3 separate regions of the Homo sapiens genome follow, and all the other regions are linked to region 2. Evidence: promoter capture Hi-C in human tissues and cell types (Jung and others, 2019). All regions are on one chromosome and are shown on one strand. Each heading gives the region's core, a stretch centred on a gene start or on the middle of the fragment in contact. The rest is flanking DNA. Distances are from core to core; before and after follow the strand shown.

The links. Contacts are between HindIII fragments. The study calls those that stand out against the background at their distance.
Region 1: a contact is called between a fragment that was not itself captured here and the fragment with the promoter of PSAT1 in region 2, in 1 of the 25 tissues and cell types used here (stomach).
Region 3: a contact is called between a fragment that was not itself captured here and the fragment with the promoter of PSAT1 in region 2, in 1 of the 25 tissues and cell types used here (psoas muscle).

Annotation. Positions count from the first base shown.
Region 1 is chr9:78,937,101-78,939,800 of GRCh38, forward strand. No RefSeq gene overlaps it. Among named protein-coding and RNA genes, the nearest start is that of LNCARSR, 630 kb to the right of the region's middle. The HindIII fragment of the contact is 3,926 bases long and covers 1-2,700 here.
Region 2 is chr9:78,295,864-78,298,563 of GRCh38, forward strand. PSAT1 (phosphoserine aminotransferase 1) reads left to right here and starts at 1,262. Exons shown (of 9, transcript NM_058179.4): 1 at 1,262-1,407. The coding sequence starts at 1,348. RefSeq lists enhancers at 348-617, 508-1,091, 1,092-1,675 and a silencer at 1,628-1,867. The HindIII fragment of the contact is 7,295 bases long and covers 1-2,700 here.
Region 3 is chr9:78,825,509-78,828,208 of GRCh38, forward strand. No RefSeq gene overlaps it. Among named protein-coding and RNA genes, the nearest start is that of PSAT1, 530 kb to the left of the region's middle. The HindIII fragment of the contact is 3,859 bases long and covers 1-2,700 here.

The DNA.
Region 1 (2,700 bases), core at 193-2,692, 640 kb after region 2:
AACCTCACCTCTTTCTGTCCAGGGGATATTTAGAAAATATTGTATTAAATAGATACACATTAATTTGTTTAAACAATTCCTCATGGTTGAACATTTGGGCTGTTTTCCCAGTTTTTTTGCCATTATAAACATTGTTAAAACATTCATCTCCATGTGCCATGCTTACTCTCTGCTTTGTGTTCTTACTGATGCTGGTCTCTTACCCATAAAAAGTGTTTTCCTCTGTAATCTCCCATATTCAGTTAAAGCAGAGTAAGATGCAAATCTGATCTAACTCCTTCATGACACCTGTCCATTTTCCTCTCCTATTGATATCTGTCTACCTGAATTTACATAGCCATTTTCCCTGCATATTTTGACACTTAATTATATATGGCCTTCAATTGTTTACAATTTTCTGATGTTACTGGTGAAATTTACAAGACAAGGGATAGGTTTCTTACATGACCTCAGTTTTGCTCTACAACATAACATGATGATGAGCTTCATCCCCTGTTTGGAGAACTTCAGGTGTCCCCTGTGCAAGTTCTTTGTCTTTGTGAGTGTCAGAGTGTATGTGTGTCAGAGAGAGTTGGGGGTGCTAGGCAGAGAGGTTTAGAAATTTTGTTCTAGTTTTTTCTGTATGTAAGACTATCACTGCACCCAGTTCCTAGAATGAATTTTCCAAGGATTACTTGTTAAATTAACTTTGGTCACCTCAACTGACATTTGAACAAGAACATTATGTGAATGACAAACATGATGTTCTTTTTAAAATGTCATGAGTTACAATCAGAAAGGGTGACAGAGGACAAAAATGGAGCAGTGAACAACAAAGAAACAAGGTGACGATCTGGAAGCAGAAATGCTTCAAATGAGATAAATGGGCTGAAGTAAGCTATTCAGAATTAAGTCTATGATAAGAGACAAAGAACCAGGTCTTTCTTTTTACATAATTCTCGTTAGCAGTTGGACATATAAAGTGTTTGAATCTTAGGTCTTATCCACCTTTGCCACATACCAAAGGCCTAATTATTTATCTTTCACAGAACACAATTTGTGAAATGAAGGTGGTATTTACTGTCCTGCCTATATCAATGTGGTTTTAAATATCCAGTTACGTAACAAACGCACTTCAAAAACTATAAAATCTGCAAATCTGTGGCAGGTGGCATTTTCCAAAGATGGCTGCAGCATCTTCATCCCACGTGACCTTTGGCAGTGTGACCTTGTGTCTTACTCTGTTCAGGCTGCTATAACAAACTATCATAAACTGGGACTGGGAGGAGGGGGGCTTATAAACAACCTGTGTTTATCTCTCACAGTTCTGGAGGCTGAGAAGCACAAGATCAAGGTATTGATACATTAGGTGTCTGGTGAGGGTTCACTTCCTGGTTTGTAGATAACCGTCTTCTTCCTGTGTCCTCACATAATGGAAGAGGCAAGGAAGCTTTCTTAAGTCTCTAAGGGCACCAATTCCACTTACAAGGGTTCCACCCTCATGACCTAATCACCTCCCAAAACCCGATCTCATAACACCATCCTATTGGGCATTAGCATTTAACACAGGAACTCTGGGGGGACACAAGCATTCAGCCTACAGCACCTTGCTAGTCACCCGTCTTGCTATGTCACCCCTAGAATCTGGATGGACTTGTTGATACAAACAACAAAGTATGGCGGATGTGATGCTATGTGACTTTCAAGGCTAGGTCATGAGAGGCAATACAGACTCCACGTTGTTTTCTAGAATTCACTCATGAGGTCCCTGAGCTCCCATGAACTAAGTTCAACTACCCCAGGTTGCCACACTTCGAGGAATCACTGGCCGCGTGGACAGTCAGGGTAGAAGTGCTGACTAAAAATGCCTCTAGATGATACCAGTGTCATCAGTCATTCTTGCCTTCTCAGCTGAGGCTCCAGACTTCATGAAGCAAAGACAAACCACACCCACTGCACCCAGTCCAAGTTCTTGACCCATAGAGTCTTACACCATAATGAAATAGCTGTTTTATGACCTATAATTTGGGATGATGTGTTATGCAGCAAACATAACCAGATAAAAAAAATCGAAGGTATGATCATCATTACCATGATGATGATGATGAATTGACTTATTAGTGGACACACTAATACCAGTTGATTTAATCTCTGACAAAAAGGCAAAGTGAGTGAGTTGGAAGCTACAGTTAGGAATGAAAGGAAATTTGGTATCATCAGTGCTTTTTCAGAGGACTGAGAACGTCTGGGGACATTTAGTGTATAACAAATAAAAAACCCTTTTCCCTAGCATCAGCTGGGATTGTAAAACTCACCTAGATGCTCTGGCCTTGTTCTTCAATAATGAACCTTGGAGAGGGGCTGGCTGCTGCAATCCCCAAGTGCTCTTCTTGTGCCTCTGCCAGACCCATCATCCTGAGCCAGCACATACAAACTGTCGTCCTGATCCAGAGCAGCTGTCTAATTACAATTTTGTTATTATTAATTACAGAGTAGAAAATCATTTGTAATTAGCTCAGCCTAAATCATAGTTTAAACAGCCAAAAATTACATTACAAACTAAAGTGTAATTAAAGCACTACACTAAAGTGTTTATTTAAACCCAGTTTAGTTACTTGCAAATTTTTCAATCAGCTTCTCAGGCTCATACATAGATTTAATTAGTCTCCAGTACTGACAGTTTAGTGCATTTATTCATTAAGCATCAATATTGCTGAACAA
Region 2 (2,700 bases), core at 12-2,511:
TCCCAGATCCAGAGCAGTGCCTCTGCTCTCAGCCCCATACCGCCCACATTCTCATTAGGAAAAGCAAACAAAAGCCAAAGTCCTGTCCAGTTACAAGCCTTCTCTAAACGGGGCAGTTGGACTGTATATATTCCTGGCGCATCAATTTTACTCAGACAGGGAAAATATTTTTACATTAAAAGAAACTAGGTTAAATTATGGTAGAGAATGCAAAATTCACAGTTTAAAAATGATGAAATTCCAGACTTCAAAGGAACTTCTTTCTTGCAGGGTAGGGGGAGGGTATTCTGTTTCAGAACCCCATGCGGGTCTCCACTGGAGTTCTTTTGAGAAGGACACTTCTGTGGAAAAGTTTGAGCAGCTCTGGCCCTGCGCCTGGCCTGGCTAGGGGCCACCTTCTTCTGGTTTGGGCTGCAGCGCCCTATGGGTATCGCGTTCTTGTTAATATCTCCTCACGTTTCTAAACTCACAGCTTGTCAGCGCGGGCGCAACCTGAGAGCTGTCGCAGGTTTCCAGCTCACTCGTTTCCCAAAGGAGGAAATGGAGAATCAGCGACTTTAAAGGACTTGCCTGGCGGGCATCCACGCTTCCCAGGCTATCGCTCCTCCCTGCGTCCTTGGCCACCTCCGTTCTTTAATCCTGCAGGAACTCAGGACCCACGTGCAAATACAAAGAACCGTATCCACCCACCCCCGGCCCTTCTTCATCCTGCGCTTCCAACCTTGGGGGGGTCCTCTCTCTCCACTGGGGTATCTGACGCCCGTGGGGGGTGCTTAGAAAAGTTTGGTAGATTAGTGACTGGTGGTTCTGGAACAAATACATCACAGCCCAAACTGGGGGCTGGTGGTGGAGAGGTGGGTGGATGGGGGCTACAAATCTGCTCGGCAACTGCCCTTTCAGCCAAGAGAGAGGAGCTGAGGTCCTCTGGGGTTGGAGGACTGGAACCGGCCAGATTGCGGGCTCAAGGGGCGAAGGCAGGTTGGCAGGGGCAGCCTCTTCCCGCCGCCCACAATCCTCGGGCGGGCGCGCAGCCGAGCCGGCTCGGCTGGCTGGCGCAATCTCGCGCGCTCCTTGCATTGATCAAAAATGGGGGTTGAAACAGTAAACGCGAGGAGGAGCAACTGCTTCGACTCGGCTCAGAAGCGCGACCAATGGGGATGTGAGCTCCTTCGCGCGAACCAATTAGCGCAGGGCCTGCGACAGCACGGGCCAATGGGGCGCCGACTCGGCGCAGGAACAAGGCGGGGGTTCGGGGCCGGCTGCAGACTCTCACCGCAGCGGCCAGGAACGCCAGCCGTTCACGCGTTCGGTCCTCCTTGGCTGACTCACCGCCCTGGCCGCCGCACCATGGACGCCCCCAGGCAGGTGGTCAACTTTGGGCCTGGTCCCGCCAAGCTGCCGCACTCAGTAAGTCCCCGCGAGCGGGCGCCGGGAGTGAGGTTCAGGCGGGAGCACGCACGCGGGTGGGTTTGCATCCCTGCGTGTGGCAGTCGGATTCCCGCTCCCTGCCTTGAGTCCCCTAGGCGCTTTGCATCAGCGTGCACAGCGGGATCAGCAGCTCCGGCAAGCGGGCTTCGGGAAGAATGCAGTTGGTGAGGAAGCTCGGCGAGGCGTGCCCGTGCAGCTGCCCCTGGCCCTGACTGCTGGTGCGAGGCAGTGCACGACTCAGCTGGCCGGGGCCTGCTGTCCCGCCGGTGCCACGCACCTGCAGACGCCCGGGCTGTGCCATCTCCTGGGCCGGTCCGGGGGCTGGGGCGGGGCGAAAAAGAAAAAGCTCTGATCTCTGCCTTCGCCTCGCGCAGCTGTGCGGCGAGCCCGGGCAGTGTGGAGCGGATGCATGAATGGACATAGTGTGAATGAGTGATGAACGGGAATGAACCGATGACAGGTTTTGCATATGCAGTGGATCACGTTAGCTGAAAGGGATTGCAAACTTAAAGGTCCGCGTGTGCGTGCCCCCCTACGCCTTACACCAGTGTTTGCTTTAGCCAGCACTTAGGAACACTGCTTTTCAGAAATGTAAATTTGAAAACCTTCAGTCCAGCTTTCCCCTCCTTGTCCCCCATAGAACCTACCCTTTCCTAAAGCCTTTCTCCCCACCCCCCTCCTTTTTTTAACCTGCTTGTCCCCTAAAGGCGTTCGAGTATTCTAACTCTGGTAGACTTTGGGCTGCTTAACCCAATTCCCTGTTCATTTCGTTCTGGAGTAAACCGAGTGATTGAATTCTCTCCCGGGCCACAATCAGATCTTGCTGGTGGAACTCACTCTCTGCCTTCCCAGGCCCCAGCCCGGCTCCTCCCCTCCCCCGCCAAACCCACCGTCCCCAGCCCCACCCGCAGTGAAGAAGGCAAAGTCTCCGATGTGCCTTGAGCCCATTGTCAGGCGGCTGCCGCCGCCGTTAGATTTTTATTTTTCTAACCAGGATAGAGCTGATAATATGTTGGAGCAGCATGAGGCATAGCCAAGTATTTTACAATTATCAATTGTTGAGCAGAGTAGAAATCTCCCTGGGACAGAGCCTCCTCTGTGTTGTGGTAAGAACAGAGAATCCAATTTTAAAGGGGAAAGGACTTCTTACTTTTCTAGGGGCAGCGCTCACAGTAGCTGAGAGGACAGGGCTTATTTTTTCTCAGTGGTTACAGTTCATTTTAGGCGAGATTCCCTGCTCCAGCTGTGGAGATGTTTCCTGTAGCCTCCTCC
Region 3 (2,700 bases), core at 96-2,595, 530 kb after region 2:
AAAAGTGTTGACTATTATTGGAGTATGCTTTTGCATACATTCCTGGCTATTTCTTTATAATAGGCTCATAAAAATAAAATTTCTAGGTCAAATGGCATGCAAAAATGTTTGTTCATTATTTCCAAGCATTTCTTCAGAAAGATGGTAACTATTTACACTTCCCACAGCAATATAACACTCTTGAGTAAATTTTTTAAAATGCCAGTATGGCAGGTAAAAAAAAGCATATCACTGTTTTCATAATAATTTCTTTGATTATTAATGAGGTTTAACATTTTAAAATACATTTTGCCTTGTCTAATTGTTATAATGGGGCATTCATATTTTCTTATTGATTTGTAAAAGCCCTATATGTATTCCTCTTATTCTATCACTTCTGCTGTGAGTATTGTCATTAGTACTTTGTCTTCAATCTTGTTCATAACTTAGTTTATTTTTATGTCCAGAGAGTTTATATTTTTATGCACAGAAGTCACATCTACTAATATTTTGTTTACATATATATTTTCCATTGGTGCTATGCTTGGGAAGTCTTCCTCCAGTTCAAACTTCTGACATATGGAATTCAAAAAGGGAGCAAGGCCAGGCGCAGTGGCTCACGCCTGTAATCCCAGGCTGAGGATTTGGGAGGCTGAGGTGGGCGGATCACGAGGGCAGGAGATTGAGACCATCCTGGCTAACATGGTGAAACCCCGTCTCTACTAAAAACACAAAAAATTAGCTGGGCATGGTGGCACGTGCCTGTAGTCCCACCTACTTGGGAAGCTGAGGCAGGAGAATGGCGTGAACCCAGGAGGCGGAGCTTACAGTGAGCAGGGGTCGTGCCACTGCACTCCAGCCTGGGCGACAGAGTGAGACTCTGTCTCAAAATAATAATAATAATAATTATTTTTTAAAAAAGGAGCAGATGATCTTCTATTATTTGCATCACTTTTGTCATCTCAGTAATCATTTGTAAGTGTGGAGGCAAGCATTTCGGCAAGGATATTCAGGTGGTCATCTTGAAACGAAAGTCTGTTCTGGTTTTCAGCAGAGCACTTTACACACTTGAATCTTTCTTTCTAAAATCAAAAGTTAATTCCATTGAATTAGACAGGATTAGGAAAAGGTGTTTAGGTATTTTCATGCTGCCCAGGCTTGTTCCCTACTCACATCAGTGTTTGTTGGCCTTCAGTGTAGGAAGGAGCTAGACGTAGTGAGAGAGCAGAAGAGGGAGGCAGGTGGCAGCCAGATGGGTACACTGGCCATGGAGCCAGCACAGGCCAGGAACAATCAGCTCTAAATAACTCTCTGTTGCTCTGCCTCTTTGATTTATTCTTCGAGGTCCACTCAAGTTTTATATCTCAGCTTTTCCATCCCATGTTGATTGCTTGATTCTCTAAACAGTTGAAGGCGTTAGTATTTTCATTACTATCCATCCAATTTAGTTCTTTTCACATAGTCTCGAAAATATAGCTTCTATCTAGTTTTATTTTACTATCCAGTATAGAGCTTAAAATATGTACTTAGCTTTCCTTACAATATTTCAAGCTTCCTAATATAATTTTTCTTTTTTTTTTAAACAAAATCTCACTCTGTTGACCAGGCTGGAGGACAGTGGTGTGATCTTGGTTCACTGCAACCTCTGCCTCCTGGGTTCAAGTGATTCTCCTGCCCCAGCCTCCCGAGTAGCTGGGATTACAGGCACATGCCACCACGTCCGGCTAATTTTTGTATTTTTAGTAAAGATGGGGTTTTGCCCTGTTGGCCAGGCTGGTCTCGAACTCCTGACTTCAGGTGATCTGCCTGCCTCGGTCTCCCAAATTACTGGGATTATAGTCATGAACTACCACACCCCACCTACTTCCTAATATAATTTAGTCCTAGCTCAAAGCATGGGCTCTGATTTGAACATGGAGACTCACCTTGGCATGAAATAAAATACGTGATGACTACTAACATGTACCTAACCAAGTATAGTTGGGGTTTAAGGGATTGTCTGGTTTAAAAAATACACACCAAATCTTTCTCTTTTTTACAAAAGGGACACACACACACACACACACACACACACACACACAGGCTATATATGAAGATATACAGCCACTATAGTTCTGCCAGAATATGTAAAGTTGATAAAGACTCTGGGCTTGAGTCAGAGGAACTCAGCTTGAATCGCAGCTCTGCCACTTACCAGCTATGTGAGTGTGAGCCTCAGTTTCTACATCTGGGAAATGGGGATAGTATATCACCTTCCTCTGAAAGTTGAATTAATACATAATCCAGTTCAATCTGAGTTTCCCTGAGGTGCATCGAAAGAAGGTGATTTAATTCTTTAGACAGCACTTCAAGATTTAACTGAATTTCCCTTATAACTCAAGTCATAATTGTTAATCTGGTAGCAAACTGGTAAACAAATTGTAACCCAACAACTAGAAAACCCCAGTTCAGTCATTACTGGAGCTGATTTATTTTATGAATTGTTTCACAGTTGAGTTGTTGGTTTTTATCCCAACTTAATCTGTACACATTATTAAATTTGTAATGAGTGAGCTTGTGGCACACCTGGCAAGAGGAAAAAGGCCCAGTTCTACTTCTTTATGCCTAACCTCGCCATGAAGTTTTCCAGCGGGTGCAGCAGTGTTGTTTTGAGTCTTAATGTTGAGCCATGTGCACCATGCTTGTGGGTGACTGTTAAGTAGCTGTCATTTTCAATCCCCA